2 separate regions of the Homo sapiens genome follow, and region 1 is linked to region 2. The links are contacts of gene promoters, found by promoter capture Hi-C in blood cells and fetal thymus (Javierre and others, 2016). All regions are on one chromosome and are shown on one strand. Each heading gives the region's core, a stretch centred on a gene start or on the middle of the fragment in contact. The rest is flanking DNA. Distances are from core to core; before and after follow the strand shown. Region 1 has its middle 59 kb from the start of LINC02948. Region 2 holds the start of DUSP4 (dual specificity phosphatase 4).

Region 1 (4,441 bases), core at 954-3,453, 270 kb before region 2:
TACACATTGCCAGATGTAATCTCACCCCTGGATTTATTGTTACATTTTCCTAATTTTTCCTTCAACGAAATTTCTTCAATGAATTTTATTCTTTTGTAGTGTGTCTGTGTTTTATAAACTGCTTCAAATCCTTTTTCATATGGGAAAGATATTAGATAGATAGATAGATAGATAGATAGATAGATAGATAGATCTTTTATATATGTATACACACACATACATACATACATATACATGGGGGTCTCCAACCCCCGGGCCACAGACCAGTACCAGTCCGTGGCCTGTTAGGAACCAGGCTGAACAGCAGGAGGTGAGCGGTGGGCTAGTGGGTGAAGCTTCATCTGTATTTACAGCATTTCCCCATTGCTCACAATACCGCCTAAGCTCTACCTCCTGTCAGATCAGCAGAGGCATTATTAATAGATTCTTATAGGAGTGTGAACCCTATTGTGAACTGCACATTCAAGGGATCTAGGTTGCATGCTCCTTATGTGAATCTAATGCCTGATGATCTGTTACTGTCTCCCATCACCCCCAGATAGAACCATCTGGTTACAGGAAAACAAACTCAGGGCTCCCAGTGATTCTACATTATGGTGAGTTTTGTCATTATTTCATGATATATTACAATGTAATAATAATAGAAATAAAGGGCACTATAAATGTAATGCACTTGAATTGCCCCAAAACCATCCTCCCCCTGCCCCATTCCCTGGAAAAATTGCCTTCCACGAAACTGTTCCCTGGTGCCAAAAAGGTTGGGGACCATTGGACGGGTGCAGTGGCTCACGCATGTAATCCCAGCACTTTGGGAGGCCGAGGCGGGCAGATCACAAGGTCAGGAAATTGAGAACATCCTAGCGAACACTGTGAAACCCTGTCTCTACTAAAAAATACAAAAAACTAGCTGGGTGTGGTGGCAGGCGCCTGTAGGCCCAGCTACTTCGGAGGCTGATGCAGGAGAATGGTGTGAACCCGGGAGGGGGAGCTCGCAGTGAGCTGAGATAGTGCCACTGTGCTCCAGCCCGGGCAACAGAGTGAGACTCCGTCTCAAAAAAAAAAAAAAAAAAGGTGGGGGACCACTACATATAAGTACACATATAATTACACAACAGATATATGTACATATATATATATACACACACACACACACACACACACACACAGTATATACATACACACATACAGGTAATAATTATTTGCAAGCTCCCATCATCCCAAGCTACTTCTGTGGTTTTCCTGATCTTAGTTCATAAATCACTGCTTAGCCAGCCTCCCAAGCTAGATTTTTCAAACTCATATTTGACTCCCCTCTCCCCATACCTACCACATTAACTCAGTCATCAACCCTATCATTTCTACCCAGAAATGGCTCTCCTTTCCCATTTGTCTCCTTCACCCTATTCCTATCTCACACCATCCTCATGACTAATGCTATTATCTATTTTTCTTTATAAAATATACGTAGTACATTTAAGCTCCTAAAAATAAATGAAAAAAATGATCAAGAACTAAATAGAAAAATGGGCAGATAATTTTTTAAATCATAAGATGGATACAAAATAATAAACTTAAGAGACACACAATTTCGCTTCATAAAGTAATTGAAAGTAAAACCTCACTGTGGGCCGGGTGCAGTGGCTCATGCCTGTAATCCCAGCACTTTGGGAGGCTGAAGCGGGTGGATCACCTGAGGTCACGAGTTCAAAAGCAGCCTGGCCAACATGGTGAAACCTCATCTCTACGAAAAATATAAAAGTGAGCCAGGCGTGGTGGCACACGCCTGTAATCCCAGCTACTCAGGAGGCTGAGACAGGAGAATCGCTTGAACCGGGGAGGCGGAGGTTGCAGTGAGCCGAGATGGCGCCATGGCACGCACTCCAGCCTGGGAGACAAAATGAGACTCCGCCTCAAAAAAATAAATAAATAAAAATTAAAACTTCACTGAAATAGCATTTGTCACCCAAACATTGGCAAAAATCCGAAGTTTTCTAGCCCACTGTGTGAGCAACGATGTTGACTGAGAAAGAGGCGCCTTCAGACACTAGCGGTAGTAGAAATTGCAACCTCCGTGGAGGGCAGTTTGGCAAATTACAAATGCTGCCTCTGCCCAGTGCCCCAGCATTTCCACTTCTGGGAATGTCCCTTATGGATATGAGTGAAATGACACAAACGTTTATGCAGCATTTTTATAACGGAAATAACTCAAATGCCTACCATTATGGATCTTTTAAAAACAAATGACAGCAAATACAATCAATGGAACACTATGCAGCTGTTAAAAAAATAGGGAAGCATTTTATAAACAGTTATAAAAACAACCTCAAAAATAAGTTCTTATGTCACAAAATATCAGGGTGTGATTATCTTTTTAGCACCCCCATATATCTGCTTCTGTATGCACTGACCATTCCGAAAAGGTAAGTAAGGAATGGGTGATGCATATCTCCTCTGGAGATGGCTGGGGGTCAGGGACAGGAGGGAAATTACACCTTCAGCACCTTTTTGTGCCTTTTGCATTTTGAATCATATATGTGAATCAACAACGGAAAAAAATTAAAACGCGATTATGGTGTTTCTCTGTTAAGCACATGCACATGTGTGTGCTCTCTCTCTCACACACACACACACACACACACACACACAAACACACACTTCTGTTAGATACCCCACAGCCTGCCAGATACATGACAAATTATTTAGAGTGCCTCACCAGGCCCTTCCCAGTACAACCCCAGCTGATCTCCCAGCCAATCTCAATTTCCCAACCTCTCTCCCTCCACCCTGAATTTCTCACCCTCTTTCCAACCCAGGCAGAGGGAGGGTGATGAGGTGTCATGAAAAAAATGAAGACATTGAATCAGAAAAACTTAGTTATTTCTTCATAACTGACAGGCTCTGTGACCGTAACCACTCTGAACTTCAGTTTCTTCATCTATCAAACGGGAAGAATGATGTCCACTTTCCTGAGGTTCTTGGAAACATGAAACGAGATAACGCTTGCAAAGCATTTGATACATACGGCGCATTCAACCAATGCTCCCTCCCTTCCACCTCCCTTTCCTATTTGTGCCTCTATCTTTGCTCAGTACTCTCCACCTGCCTGGAATCCCTTTCTCCTACTCCTCTTGGCAAACCCCACTCAGACTTTTTTTTTTTTTTTTGAGACGGAGTCTTGCTCTATTGCCCAGGCTGGAGTGCAGTGGCACTATCTCGGCTCACTGCAAGCTCTGCCTCCTGGGTTCACGTCATTCTCCTGCCTCAGCCTCCCGAGTAGCTGGGACTACAGGCGCCTGCCACCACGCCTGGCTAATTTTTTGTATTTTTAGTAGAGACAGGGTTTCACCGTGTTAGCCAGGATAGTCTCGATCTCCTGACCTCATGATCCTCCCGCCTCAGCCTCCCAAAGTGCTGGGATTACAGGCATGAGCCACCGTGCCCGGCCTCAGACTTTTAAGGTGAAATTCAATGTCATCACTGGTCCCTTGCTCTGCACTGTATCTCCTTTCTTATAGGATGTATCAAGCTAGATGTCATTTTCTGCTTCCATTTCTGTCTCTACTACCAGACTAGGAGCTCCACAAAAGCAAAAACTATTTTGCCTTTTTTTTTTTTTTTTTTTTTTTACCCCCAGAGCTTCGCAGAGCATCTAAGTTTAAAGAGCTGGTTCAAGTTCAGAAAACCACTAAAACAGAGAGTCCAGTTAGGGACTTCCTGCTTTCTTATCCATGCTCACCTGGCCCATTACTTTTGGCTGTTAACACTCTCATGGCATCTTGCTCCCTTGTATATTTTTCTACAAAAGGGAAATGGACTTTTAAACAGAAGGAAAGATTCATAAGATGAACACTTTCTTCATGACCATCCACCAGCTACCCATGCTGTGGAGAAAAGTTGCAGGTGGTAGAGTAATGGGAAGGTGAACATTTCTTTAGTGCATTTAACACCTGCTTGAAAAGCAAGAAGCCCTTGCCCAAGCTATTTCTTCATATCAAACCCTCATATAGCATGCTTGCATTTGTTAGCCATATAGCATTTTGTAATTTACTGTGGGGTTTAGCCTAAGCTTTTCTCAATTGATGAGAAAGCAAATGAAAGCAGAATTCTGAAGCCAAGAGGGGTCTAAAGTCAAGTCACCAGCATAGTGTTAAAGAATTCTTGGCCAAAGAGTGCAAGTGGTGTCAGAACATCTGACTCTGTCAAAATATGTGTCAAAATTCATGGCCCATTGCATCCCAAGGCAATCTGCACAGATGAGTTCCTGCTTTCCTTGATCTGAAATTCTTGTAGGAAGCTAACATATCATCCTGTAATAAATGCAATGAGAGGAGTGCTTATGGGAGCCTGACTCAGACTTGAGGGATCAAAGAGACTATGGCAGCTGTGATCTGAGGGTCTAGCAGGGTTGACCTAGGAGTGTGGACAGATGTGTGTGTGTGTG
Region 2 (4,950 bases), core at 1,846-4,345:
AATCCCATCCCAATTCCTACAAATATGCCTTAGTTAATTAAATTAACTTTGAAATGACATTCCGTGTCTTGCTCCAAATTGCCTTTGTTTTCTCCAAGATCTGCTCATTGACAAGCTGTTTCACAAGGTTCCTGTTTAAAATGGTTATGTTTCGTCCACAGACTGCAGACGAATTGGAGACAGGTTTTATCTATAGCCGGCATGGAGTAGCCCTCGCGTTGTACTCATTTAACTGTGGACCAATGGTTCACAAACATACAATTAAAAAATATATATCTAGGGTGTTTACACAGTATCCCGATAAATACAATATGGTAACTTAAATCTCCTTTGCTGAAATTCACACAACTGAAGGCCAATTCCTGAGTTGGCAATGGGGTGTGGATTTTAAAAATTAGTCTTTTTTAAAAATCAGGCCTTCGCTTTCGCAATTCAAGTGGCTCTCGGCTTAAACACATTAAGTCCCAAGCTGTGACTCCCTTCCAGTGAACAGCCGCGTAGGCGCGGGCACGCACACGTGGACACACACACTCACACGCGCCCTCCCACACCCCTTTCCGTGTGAATCGCCTGCGGGATTTAGGGCTTCTCCACCAGCGATTACTGTCAGGTGCAGAAAGCAAGCCTCTTTGTTCTATGGGCATTTTCCTCCCCCTGGATTTGACTGTTATTTACTGGCCACGTGAGCGCCAGGCGCGGGTCCGGCGGGGAAGGCGACCCCAGAACAGGGTAGACAAAAGCTGGCCCAGAGCGCGACCCGTGCGCCCCAGGGACGTCTCCCCAGCTCCTGCGACACGCGTGAAATTGGCCCGGACCTGCCTCCTGAGAGGCTTTTCCCAGAAATGTCTTGTTAAAGCCTTTGTAAAGGAATCAGTGTTTACTTGCGCCGGGAGAGCTCCGGCCCTGGGTCCTGGCAGGCGGCGGATTTCTGAGCTGCTGGAGAGCAACCCGGGAAAGCAAAATCAGCCTTGGACTGTCGGGGCCCCTGGGGCTCCTTGCTCCTTATCGAAAGCGAGTTATTAGATAGACCCCCACAGTCCCATTCAGCAGAATGGGAAACTGGACTCAGACACCTTTTGCCCTCCCCACAGGGAGGCCACGCCGTGCGGCTTTGACCACTGATCTCCCACCCGGAGTGCCCGACGCCCAGGGTCCTGCCACCGGGCAGCCTCGGTCAGTCCACAGTTGTGGCTCCTTCCAGGGCCTGGACTAGGGTGAGCACAAGCCTTGAGCGCAACATTTAAGAAGGGCGCCGAAAAGTCAGTAATCAAAAGAAATATCTTGATGCAATGCCTCTTTAAAAGAAAAAAAAATGCAAAAAATCCATGATGAATAAAATACTAAATTTTAAAAAGAGAAAGGATCCGTGCAGTGCCATCGTAAGCCATTTTGGAGCCCGGAGCAAAAGGAAATATCACCTTGCCCAAGCGGTGCCCCTACAGCTCATCCGAGTAGGGCCCGGGGGTCGAGGCATTCGGGGCCCAGTGGGGGACGAGGCCAGTCGAAGGTCTCGGAAGTGGAGGCTCCGCCGAGCTCCGGTCGGGGAGTGCAGGGATGGCCCCCGGGACCGGAGGTGAGAGCTCGGGAAAGCCGCTCCGCCCGGAACAAAGGCATGGGGAGAGGGTGAGCTTGGGCGGGAGAGACCCGGCGGGTACCGGTGCCCTCGCTGCCTGGGTCGGGCTTCCACGCGCGCCCCGGAATGGAATACGCTACTCTGCAGCCTCCGAAACTGCGAGCGAGTCCTGTAACTCCCTTGCTCTGTGATTAATTCTCACTAACAAGACTTGGCAAGATGTCGGGCGAATGATTTTTGGCTTCTGCACGGTCCCCACCGCGTGCGTGCACAAACCCCCAGCCAAAAGCCGCCTCTGGGAAATTAAATGCAAAAGAGAAATGGGGATGGGGAGGGCTGCTACGTGACCAGGAAAAAGGGATGCCCAGAAACATGAATCGGACCCAGAGCTGCTGAAGTCCTTTCAAAAGGTCATTCTTTGCGGGTACATTTTCCAGGGTCCAGCTCCGCAACAAATGTGGACCCTGTCATTTCCTGAAAGGATAATTCACAACTATGCAAGATAGGGTGAAGACGTTTCCCAAACCCGAAAACCTTGTTTTTCCCCCGACCAGGGTTAAATAAACATCTTTTAGGAAGCGTGGACAGGAGCGCAGCCTGCTCTCCTCCCTCGGAACACCATTCCGGCAATTAATGCCTCCCTTTGGGTAGTAAAGCAACAAACCCCACACCTCACTCCGATCCTGGGCTTCGGGCGGGAGGACTTTCTCTTTCATCTTCCAAGCAGGGGGTTGCCCACGTTCTTGGGGAAGCTATAAAACTGATTTAATGGCTTTAGATGAAAATCGATCACGCTAATGCATACGCTAACGTCTCAGGAATCGCATATTCAGAAAGGACTGGCCGGGCCGAAAGCGCACGGGGAGTCTGGGGCTAGGAGGTGTCAGGCCCCGCTGGGTGGGCAGCAGCGCTCCGGTCCCCTCTCCACTTGGGTAACCGGGAAAAACCTACGGGGCTGTCACGCGGGGAAGCGCGAAGGTGCCAAGGGATGAAAGCTCAAACCCGAGCCCTGGCCTCCTCAGCCGGCTATTTCCTTTGGCGCCGCCCGCCTAGCGGCGGGGTGCAGCGGCGGCACAGGTGCCGGTGTCGGGCTGGAGGCGCGGCGCAGGCTGGGCCCGCGGGTAGACGGCGAAAGGCGCCGCGCGCTCCATTCACAAAGTCCGGGCGCTGCCCGCCGCTGGCGGCGGGTCGGAGGCCGCCTCCCTCTTCCTCTCGGCCTCGGTTTTATGAATGGGCCTGATGGCGAGCACCCGGCGCCCTGTTTACTCCGCTCTTTGTGACGTCGAGTTCCCGTGACCGGGAGCCAGCGGCCGCGCTCCATTCAAGCTCCGGGGAGGGGGTGGGAGGAGGGGCCCGGAGGGGGCGGGGAGTCAGCGCGGGGGGCGGGGGACAGCGCGGGGGGCGGGGGACGGCGCGGGGCCCGGAATGGAACGGGGCGGGGCCTGGCGGGGTAGTACCTAGCGCCCCCTCCCCCGGGAGCGCGGAGGAGCATTAATAAACCTCTAAGCCGAGGAGAAAACTCTGGCTGGGGCAGTGCGCTGAGCGCCGGAGGAGCGTAGGCAGGGCAGCGCTGGCGCCAGTGGCGACAGGAGCCGCGCGACCGGCAAAAATACACGGGAGGCCGTCGCCGAAAAGAGTCCGCGGTCCTCTCTCGTAAACACACTCTCCTCCACCGGCGCCTCCCCCTCCGCTCTGCGCGCCGCCCGGCTGGGCGCCCGAGGCCGCTCCGACTGCTATGTGACCGCGAGGCTGCGGGAGGAAGGGGACAGGGAAGAAGAGGCTCTCCCGCGGGAGCCCTTGAGGACCAAGTTTGCGGCCACTTCTGCAGGCGTCCCTTCTTAGCTCTCGCCCGCCCCTTTCTGCAGCCTAGGCGGCCCGGGTTCTCTTCTCTTCCTCGCGCGCCCAGCCGCCTCGGTTCCCGGCGACCATGGTGACGATGGAGGAGCTGCGGGAGATGGACTGCAGTGTGCTCAAAAGGCTGATGAACCGGGACGAGAATGGCGGCGGCGCGGGCGGCAGCGGCAGCCACGGCACCCTGGGGCTGCCGAGCGGCGGCAAGTGCCTGCTGCTGGACTGCAGACCGTTCCTGGCGCACAGCGCGGGCTACATCCTAGGTTCGGTCAACGTGCGCTGTAACACCATCGTGCGGCGGCGGGCTAAGGGCTCCGTGAGCCTGGAGCAGATCCTGCCCGCCGAGGAGGAGGTACGCGCCCGCTTGCGCTCCGGCCTCTACTCGGCGGTCATCGTCTACGACGAGCGCAGCCCGCGCGCCGAGAGCCTCCGCGAGGACAGCACCGTGTCGCTGGTGGTGCAGGCGCTGCGCCGCAACGCCGAGCGCACCGACATCTGCCTGCTCAAAGGTAAACGAGGGCTCCGGGCGCTAGCTGGAGTCGGGGAGATGGAGGGGGTCTTGGCGGCCTGCGCCTTATTGGCACGGGAAGGAGTCCCCGGCGTGATTCGTGGTTGCGGGGATCCCCGCGCGCCCCTTTGTGTGTGTTGGTGTGTAGGGGTTTGCAAGGTTTCTGTGCAAGTGCGAGGTTCAAGTCCTCAGGGAAAGTGCGGACGGGTTTCTCCGGTCACCTGCAATTCCGCACCGTCCTAGCGAGGCCCCGTTTATTGACATTAACGGTCCTAGCCTCGAGGATGAAGCGACTCCTCTGCGCGGTCCATCTTGAGTCCCGGGAACAGTTTCCAAGTACCACGGGGCGCGTGGGGACAAGATAGGCCTGTTGGTTTGGCGTGCTGGGGCCCTACACTGAGCCGGACCGGGAGAATCCCAGAGGTGGAGAAAAGGTGAAGAGGGGTGGGCGCCGAGGTACAATTGGCCTTGCCAGTTTCACTGAAAACAAGACCCTGGCAAATGCAGAAAGGGAGATTGGGTTGCACACACTGTGTAGAGCGATCTGTATCTGCGTTCCCGCTGCCCAACTCCAAGCTCAGCTTGGAAGGTGGCCAATCCCCGTCCCGGGCTAGATCCAGGCTCTGGGAGCGGGAGGCTGAAGGACTGGGTATCTGGGGGACGCCGGGCGGAACCGGTCCTCTAGCGCCTGCAAATCCGGGCAGCGGAGAATGATCACCTTTTGTTCAGCCCGGATTTTCGACTATCTGATGGCGGCGCGTGCCGGATTTTAGCGAGCCCTGGCGAAACTCTCGGCGGCGAGACTGTCTTGTCACATTTGGTAGTCGGAAATCCTGGAAAAATCGCGTGCTGTCCGAGTCCCTGGAGGGACCTGGCGCCCGCCACACCTGCAGGGCAGGGTGGGTCCGCGGCCCTCGGGCTAGGGAGCGGGCAGGGCGCGTGGGGTCCGGGCGCCCCCCGCCGCGCTGCGCCTCCGCCTCCCGCCGCCGCATTCCGCGCATTCTTCCGCGCGGGTAGG

What was found. The method cuts DNA at HindIII sites, captures the fragments that hold promoters and counts their contacts. A CHiCAGO score of 5 or more calls a contact.
Region 1: a contact is called between a fragment that was not itself captured here and the fragment with the promoter of DUSP4 in region 2, in 2 of 17 cell types (non-activated CD4 T cells and M2 macrophages). The highest score is 6.0, in non-activated CD4 T cells.

The regions. Positions count from the first base shown.
Region 1 is chr8:29,619,406-29,623,846 of GRCh38, reverse strand. No RefSeq gene overlaps it. Among named protein-coding and RNA genes, the nearest start is that of LINC02948, 59 kb to the right of the region's middle. The HindIII fragment of the contact is 3,731 bases long and covers 338-4,068 here.
Region 2 is chr8:29,348,829-29,353,778 of GRCh38, reverse strand. It overlaps DUSP4 (dual specificity phosphatase 4), which reads left to right and starts at 3,095. Exons shown (of 4, transcript NM_001394.7): 1 at 3,095-3,933. The coding sequence starts at 3,501. LOC124901924 (a long non-coding RNA gene) reads right to left here and starts at 2,805. Exons shown (of 2, transcript XR_007060876.1): 1 at 2,245-2,805. RefSeq lists enhancers at 2,178-2,287, 2,328-2,397, 3,096-3,595, 3,918-4,067, 3,596-4,097 and silencers at 2,588-2,727, 2,918-3,237, 4,808-4,950. The HindIII fragment of the contact is 21,736 bases long and covers 1-4,950 here.